Linked DNA regions of Homo sapiens: regions 1 and 2 are each linked to region 3. Evidence: promoter capture Hi-C in 16 types of primary human blood cells and fetal thymus (Javierre and others, 2016). All regions are on one chromosome and are shown on one strand. The core of a region is centred on a gene start or on the middle of the fragment in contact, and the rest is flanking DNA. Distances in the headings are between cores, read along the strand shown. Region 1 overlaps USP22 (ubiquitin specific peptidase 22). Region 2 has its middle 5.0 kb from the start of MAP2K3. Region 3 holds the start of WSB1 (WD repeat and SOCS box containing 1).

Evidence for each region. Contacts are between HindIII fragments. The CHiCAGO score rates a contact against its expected background, and 5 or more counts as called.
Region 1: a contact is called between a fragment that was not itself captured here and the fragment with the promoter of WSB1 in region 3, in 1 of 17 cell types (fetal thymus). The highest score is 8.0, in fetal thymus.
Region 2: a contact is called between a fragment that was not itself captured here and the fragment with the promoter of WSB1 in region 3, in 1 of 17 cell types (fetal thymus). The highest score is 6.0, in fetal thymus.

The regions. Positions count from the first base shown.
Region 1 is chr17:21,038,477-21,041,176 of GRCh38, reverse strand. The region is part of intron 1 of USP22 (ubiquitin specific peptidase 22); the gene reads left to right. Among named protein-coding and RNA genes, the nearest start is that of USP22, 3.2 kb to the left of the region's middle. The HindIII fragment of the contact is 633 bases long and covers 953-1,585 here.
Region 2 is chr17:21,278,336-21,281,035 of GRCh38, reverse strand. No RefSeq gene overlaps it. Among named protein-coding and RNA genes, the nearest start is that of MAP2K3, 5.0 kb to the left of the region's middle. RefSeq lists an enhancer at 950-1,029. The HindIII fragment of the contact is 320 bases long and covers 1,117-1,436 here.
Region 3 is chr17:27,292,841-27,295,540 of GRCh38, reverse strand. WSB1 (WD repeat and SOCS box containing 1) reads right to left here and starts at 1,427. Exons shown (of 9, transcript NM_015626.10): 1 at 1,106-1,427. The coding sequence starts at 1,145. MIR4522 (microRNA 4522) reads left to right here and starts at 1,545; the gene lies at 1,545-1,631. RefSeq lists enhancers at 1,149-1,208, 1,219-1,278, 1,649-1,698 and a silencer at 1,399-1,608. The HindIII fragment of the contact is 5,795 bases long and covers 511-2,700 here.

The sequences.
Region 1 (2,700 bases), core at 20-2,519, 6.3 Mb after region 3:
GCGCGGTGGCTGACGCCTGTAATCCCAGCACGTGGGGAGGCCGAGGGGGGCAGATCACGAGGTCAGGAGTTCGAGACCAGCCTGGCCAACATGGTGAAACCTCATCTCTACTAAAAATACGAAAAGTAGCCGGGTGTGATGGCGGGCGCCTGTAATCCCAGCTACTCCAGAGGTTGAGGCAGGAGAATCACTTCAACCCGGGAGGCGGAGGTTGCAGTGAGCAGTGATCGCGCCACTGTACTCCAGACTGGGTGACAGAGCAAGACCCCCTCCGGAAAAAAAAAAAAAAGGGTGGCCTGGTTGAAGCCAGTCTTCTACAGGGAATGTGCTGTTGCTACTCTGGGTCAGTAGTGTCCGGATTGGGACGTGACGCGCCCAAGATTTGTTACTACTTTGGATGAAGTGGGGACCGCCCCACTCTTCCTCTCCCTCCTTTTCTTTTTCCGTTCCCTCCCTCCCTCTCCCTTTCTTCCCCCCTCTGGTATTTTTTAACCAAATAGAAGGAGTCAAGTTTAAACCATCATTAACTAACTTTGCCTAATTTCCTAAAGTTAAGAATTACTTTTTTTTTTTGCGCTACTTATGGCTCTGATTAATCTTTTAATTTCAGATGTCAGTTGCTTAGTTTCAAAACTGTTGAGCCACATGTATGTTATTCACCAATTAGAAGTTGAACTGTAGTCGGGTAGTGAAAAATATTTCTTTCAAAATTTAGGTGGGGGCTGCTGCAGTGCCAGTTGGCAGTGTGCCAGCAAGGAGCCCTTAAGCCCTCCATGCTTTTTCCTCTGACTGGGGGGACTTATTTACCTGTATCACTTCATGTGCGGTGTCCTGCATTTCTAGCACTCTCTAGTGGCCCAGTTAAGGAAGAGTTGGTTTGGGAAATAGTTTAACAAACCTGATGATTAACAGTTGGACAATCTGCATAGGATTTCCATCAGATCTGTAAGCTTAGGACATTTTGTTTTTTAAATTTTATTTTATTAAAAATTATTTTTTGTAGAGACAGAGTCTTGCTCTGTTACCCAGGATGGAGTGCAATGGTCTGGTCAGTGATCACTGCAGCCTCAGATTCCTGGACTCCAGCCTCTCCTGAGTAGCTGGGACTACGGGCGTGTGTCACCACGACCGGCTAATATTTGTAGAGACAGTGTCTCACTATATTGCACAGGCTGGTCTTGAACTCCTGGACTCAAGCCATCCTCCTGTCTCCCAGAGTGCTGGGATTACAGGCCAGAGCCACTGAGCCCAGCCATATTTTTGGTTTTAATGATATGAACTTGACTGTAAAAGTACTTTAAGCTGATGATTGTGCCACTGTACTCCAGCCTGGACAACAAAACCTATCTCAAAACAAACTTCAACTTGAATTATAATCTTTGTAAACAAACAAAGGTACTTTTTGAGATGGACATCTCAGGTACAGTTTAAAGAAATGAATCCCTGAATGAATAGGAATTACGAGTTTTGTTATCTAAGGACAGATGGATTATGCATTTTGTACCCAAACTTTGATTCTTCTTTTAACAGGCAGAACATGACAAAAACATGACCAGGCTTGATAAATTTCTGTCCAAAAGAAGCTTGAATTGCAGTAAAACTCTGTTTTTTGAGATGGGGTTTTCACTCTTTTTGCCCAGGCTGGAGGGCAATGGCGTGATCTCGGCTCACCACAGCCTCCCCCTCCAGGGTTTAAGTGATTCTCCCAAGTAGCTGGGATTACAGGCATGCGCCACCATGCCTGGCTAATTTTGTATTTTTCGTAGAGATGGGGTTTCTTCATGTTGGTCAGACTGGTCTCGAACTCCCAACCTCAGGTGATCCGCCCATCTTGGCCTCCCAAAGTGCTGGGATTACAGGCATGAGCCACCGCGCCTGGCCCGAATTGCCATAAAACTCTTGTATTGCAGACTATAAAAATATTTCTGCCGGGCATGGTGGCTCACGCCTGTAATCCCAGCACGTTGGGAGGCCGAGGCGGGCGGATCACGAGGTCAGGAGATCGAGACCATCCTGGCTAACACGGTGAAACCATGTCTTTACTAAAAATACACAAAATTAGCTGGGCATGGTGGCACGCGCCTGTAATCCCAGCTACTCGTGAGGCTGGGGCAGGAGAATCGCTTGAACCAGGGAGGCGGAGGTTGCAGTGAGCCGAGATCGCACCACTGCACTCCAGCCTGGGCGACAGAGCGAGACCGTCTCAAAAAAAAAGAAAAAAACTATTTCCATGATTTAGGACTGGCACGACCACAGTGGCGTCTCCTTTGTGTTTTTGGTGTGTGTTAAATATAACAAATTTCTTACCATTTCAGGGTTTGTCTGTAAAGATAGGAACTGGCAGGAAGTGATTATGATTTAACATTCTACATTATATTTTGAATATAGACACTTTGGAGAACAGGTAATGTTTTTAAAACCATTTCTCTCTTTGAATCTAAAATTTTATGGCACTGTGTCCTCAAAACACTTTTTTAAATTTTTTATTTTTTATGTATTTTTTTTTTTTTTGAGACAGGGTCTGTCTCTCACTCAGGCTGGAGTGCAGTGGTATGATCATGGCTCACTGCAGCCTCGAGTTCCTGGGGTCCAGTGATCCTCCTGCCTCAGCCTCCCAAGTAGCTGGGACTACAGGCATGCGCCACCGCACCTGGCTAATTTTTGTATTTTTGGTAGCCATGAGTTTTGCCATGTTGCCCA
Region 2 (2,700 bases), core at 27-2,526, 6.0 Mb after region 3:
TGGTGTGTGAGCCAGACAAGCAAAATGCCTAAGTCAAATTATGTCAGGCCAGGCATGGTGGCTCACACTTATAGTCCCAGCAGTTTGGGAGGCCGAGGCAGGTGGATCGTTTGAGCCCAGCAGTTTGAGACCAGCCTGGGCAACATGGCAAAACCTCGTCTCTACAAAAAAAAAAAAAAAAAAAAGTTGGCTGGGTATGGTGGCATGCTGCTCAGGAGGCTGAGGTGGGAGGATCACTTGAACCCAGGAGGTCAAGGCTGCAGTGAGCCAAGGTTATACCACTGCACTCCAGCCTGGCGGGCAACAAGACCCTGTCTCAAAAAACAAAAAATTATTACAAATGCTATGGGGGAAAGTAGGGGAGGGGACAGGGTGTGTGTCTGGACATGGGGGCTATAATTTTAAGGAGGGAGGTCAGGAAAAGCCTCCCTGGAAGGTGCCACATAAACAGAGACCAAAGGACTTAACGGAAGGACCCACAAAGAGATCCGGGGGAAAAGCATTCCAGGCAGAGGGAACAGTTGTGCAAGGGCCCTGAGGTGGATGGCTTGTAGGCGAGTAACAAGGAGACCGATGTGGCTGGGTGGTGGGAGCTGAGGAGTCCCTGTTCTCACCTATATACACCCCCTTGGACGTACTCACTCCCACGTGCCCCTTCACACCTGTGCAAGTCCACACACCCCAAATACACATGCACACACACATGACACAAGGGGGTGCACAAGTGTGTACGTTCATGTGGAGGGACCACATGGTCACGTCCACAGACACAACCCACAGGCACAGCGGTGCACATGGTCTATGCATAGCCTTGCCACCAGCTGGGGCCTCCACTGCTTGCTGCCCCACAGCGCCCTCTGGTGACCAGGGCCCGGCAGTGCTCTAGAGTGCCCAGGAGCACAGGATCCACTGCCCTCACTGCTTTGACGGCCATCCAGCCTCCTCTTCTCTGTGCTGCCTGCCCCCAGGCCTTCCACACTGCAGCCAGAGCCTTCCCAAACACGGCTGGCCAAGTTCTAAGTCCTGCCCTGGCTCCCTAGGCGGGCAACTTCCAACACTCCAACCCCTGGTGACTTCTCCAGACATCCCCCAGTCCAGCCACTCTGAATTCAAGCTTTCCTCTTTGAACCTTTCTTTGCAAAGGCTGTTCCCTTAGCCAGGAATGCCCTTCCCTACCTTCCGACCTGACACATTCCCTCCGCTCCTTCGAGGCCCAATTCTGAAGGTGGGACAGGAGGCCCTGCCTGACACTGCTCTGCCCAGTGCCCCTGCCCCAGCCCCTCTCACCATGGCTCACCCGCCCTGTCAGTGGCTGCGCCCCTGTCTGCCTCTCCCATACGACTCCTGCTGCTTGAAAGCAGGGCCTGTGACTGGTTCTCCCCAGAACAGCATCAGGCCATGCTGGTGATGGTGGAAAAGTGAAAACTTGAGAAGCTTGGAGGCAGCAATATGTGGTTCCTGAGCATCTTTTACTCAGGGGCCGGTTCTGAAGTCGAAATATAGAGAAGGAAACCTCAACGGAGGCTCACCTGCTTTCTTTAAATCATCATCACTCTCAAATATCAAAAGATGAATTCACACAAGTGACTGGCTCCACTAGCAAAACAGCAAGTCCTATTTTTACAGCTCCTACTATGTGCTAGTCCCTCCAAGCACAGCATCTTATGGACTCACTGTGATGCAAGCTGCACGGGGGCAATGCCTTTGCTTTGGTCACTGCAGTGTCTCCGGCACACAGTAGGTGCTCAGTGAATACTTGCGGAGTGGAGGAAAGTTTTCAATGTCCCAACGAGGTGTCTAGTATTATCATCATCTCCACTAAAGAGATGAGAAAATCGAGGCTCAGAGAGGTGCCCAGAAGCATCCAATACCGCTGGTAATGGCAGAGCTATTGTTTGAAATCTGTTCTGTCAGATGGAGATAGTTTTCCCTGCCTTTTCCTGCCCACACTTCCACTAAAGTGTTTTGCAACACCCTGCTTCCGAGCAAAACAAACTCCCCTTGAGCTCCCTTCACTGCTTTCTGGAAAGCCACCAGCTCTGCTTCTAACAGAGCAGTTGAGTCTGGCCTGCCCGGTTCCCTGCAGGGTTGCACGAACAACCCTGTGGCTGTCCCCAACACCAGTCCAGGGGTCCAAGGAGCCTCAGCATGGTGTCTCCCTGCCCAGGGTTCTCAAACTTAGCACTTCCTGCCCAGCAGGCAGGAGGCAGTCAAGGGGACAACACTTACTGGCACCTGTTGCATGCCAGGCCTCGTGACTTGACACACATCCCAGGGAAGTGGGTGTGGTTAGACTTTCATCTTACAGATGAAGAAACAGAAGCCCAAGGCTTCAAGCGCTTGCCCAGGTTCCACCACCAGGAAGGATGACACCAGATTTTTAACCCAGACCATCACTGTAACAGCCTACTGTGTGTCAGCCTTTTTAGTTCAATCCTGTGCTTCATTATCTAGATGCCAAGACCACAGGGCTGTTCTTATTGCCCCATGATGGGTGAGAAGTACTGCAGACACAGAGATGAAGCAACTTGCCCGTGAGATCACACAACCAGGGAGAAGAGAGGCAAAAGCGTCCCAATGGGGCTGACTCCACAACACGGGTGCATCCAGCATATCTGCCTTCAAAGTGCTGTTTTCTAATCTAGGCCAGGAAGTAGCCAAGTAACCGTGAACCAATGAGTTGTCTCAGCCAGGCCTTGG
Region 3 (2,700 bases), core at 178-2,677:
TCTTTAAAAATGGTTATTAAAACCAGGGTTAAAGTCCCTTCCTAATCAATCATCCCTAAGACAACAAAAGTCCAGAATTCTAAAACAGCTGTTTCTAGATATAAAAATTCACCCACATACAAAATAGTGCGCGTTTTGGCTACTTCAGCCTCTTCCCTTCTCTAGAAATAACTCCTCCTTGTACTTAGTAAAGGCACACATTCACTTCAAGAGTAGGAAAATGTAAATGCTCTCTGCTCAGCGGCCGCAGCTAATTATTACTTCACACAGTAAGATCAGTGTTTGCTAAGTGTTATCAGCCAATGTACAGCACCCCCCAACACCGTCAAACGTTGTTCCAGTTATTTTACTTTAAAAGAGGATTTAAATAATGCGACGTGCTTTCCACTGAGCCACTAAGTAGGTGTGGACGCACAACCTTCAACACTAATTGCCCTTTACTAAGCCGACCAGGGCTAGACACTAAGCCAGAAAAGCCTTTTCCAGAGTTTCCTCTTCCGCACAAAAGCTTTCCTTCTGTCACTCCACCCAACCACCCAGCTCCTCCCTTAAGTGTTTGAAAGATAATTCTAAAAGTCTCCTCCCCCGAACCGCTGCGTTTCTTAAGGCCACACCATTTTAAAAATACTGTATTGCTTTTGCCAGGCTGTTGGGACCTCTTCCATCTCATTTCTATCTAAGAGTGGTTGGTACACACGAGGACCCCCTCCTTTCATTACCGCTTACAACCCACAAGTTTACTTTTCCCCATTGTAAACCTAAAGTCCCTGAGTGGCCCTTCCCTGTCCACTCGACAGTCATGCCCTGAGCCAAGAACTCCCAGGACAAGAGCCCTGCGCGGACCTCCGACGAAGAAACCGGGGTCCTTGCCCGCCCCAGCCACACAGCAACCGCGAGGGAGCACAGTAGGTGCTGCATCCACGTCGGTGCCGTTTACCCCTCAGCCAACTCCCACCGAGGCGGCTTCCTCCTCCTCGCTAGTGGGCTGGCCCTGGCGCACTGGAGCTCTTCCCTCAGACTTGGAGTCGCTTCCTCCCAAACCTCCTCCGGGGAGTCCCTGCCTCTCCTCGGCCCTCATGCGCCCACCCACGGTCCCAATCCTCACCGATCTCTTTCTCGTTGACCCTCGGGGGAAAGCTGGCCATCTATGGGGCACCGTCTGATTCCGGGAATACGATGCGGACCCAACAACAGAGAAGAGAGTGGCGACCGCTGAGGGGCGTGACGCCAAGTTGGTCCCTCCCGGGCCCAGGGACAGAGGAGACGGGCGGGGGCGGCCGCTGCGGCTTCTGCTAACTGCCTCGGGAAAGCTCCCGAAGGCCTCAGACCAAAGTACGGAGTCAACCACAGACAATAGACCCTGTACCCAGCCTCGCGCCTGCGGAGGAAGACAGTTCCCCTAAAGCGCCGACTGCAAACGAGACACTGGAGTCAAAATGGCGGGCGGCGCCGGAGATATCTGGGCGGCAGGGGCGCGGCCACGTGACGTCACAGCCCGAGGCCCCCGCCTCCCGACGCACGGGACGTGATCTCCCCGGCCCGGCGCGGGCGTTGCCTGGGGGCCTCGCAGGGGGAGATCCAGCCCAGGCTGGTTCCGCTGACTCTGCCTGTAGGCCGGTGGCGTCTTCTGGGCCTGGATGGTCTAATATGGAGTTTATAAGCTGAAGTGGCTTTGAAAAGGGCAAGCAGAGAATTGTATTATTATTAGCCTCCTAGCTTAAAGATTGCATGGAACTTAAACTGGCTGAACCAAAAGAACAAAAAGACATTTCAGGTTTTCACTCAATTTGGCCAACTCCCCAGCCCACAAGTAATAGGGAACTGAAGGATGCACTGATGAAAAAGACAGGATGAAAATTAACATCGTTGTGCACCACCTGTCCAGCTGCGATTGTTCAGACCTGAGCCAGCAGGTTTTAGGAAGGGCCGAGGGGAACGAGAAGGAGACTCGGGCGTGATCGCGCCGCACCGCGCCGCGGGGCCTCTCTGGACTGCCTTTGTCCTGGCCAAGATGGATCCCACTGTCCTGGCCAAGATGGATCCCACTGTGTCAGCTCAGAATTGGCCCTTCCTCCACCTTACCTGAAGGCCTCTGGGAGGCACCTAGTTGTCCACACATCAGACTGATAAATGTGTCAGTATCTGCTAGATGCCAGCTTGGTTCCCGGTCACAGATGACGTATTTGCATTTTAATGGCTTCTCGTGTGGACCCTAAACATTGCAAAGGCCTGGGGCGTATAAGACTGGGAATTCAAATATGTGGCAGATATTCATGGGACAGAGTAGAGTGTTGCATAGCCGCTTTTTTTTTTTTTTTTTTTTTTTTTTTTGAGACGGAGTCTCGCTTCTCCCAGGCTGGGGTGCAATGGCGTGATCTTGGCTCACTGCAACCTCCGTTTCCCGGGTTCAGGCAATTCTCCTGCCTCAGCCTCCCCAGTAGCTGGGATTTGTACAGGCATGTGACACCAAGCCCGGGTAATTTTTGTATTTTTAGTACAGAGGGCGTTTCACCCTGTTGGCCAGGCTAGTCTCGAACTCCTGGCCTCGAGTGATCCGCCCGCCTCAGCCTCCCAAAGTGCTGGGATTACAACGTGAGCCACCACGCCCGGCTGCATAGCCGCTTTTAAGAGATCTCAAATGATAACACTGTAGGGCATGTTTACTTCATCTTTTCTTTGCATGAGTGTATTAATTCTTCA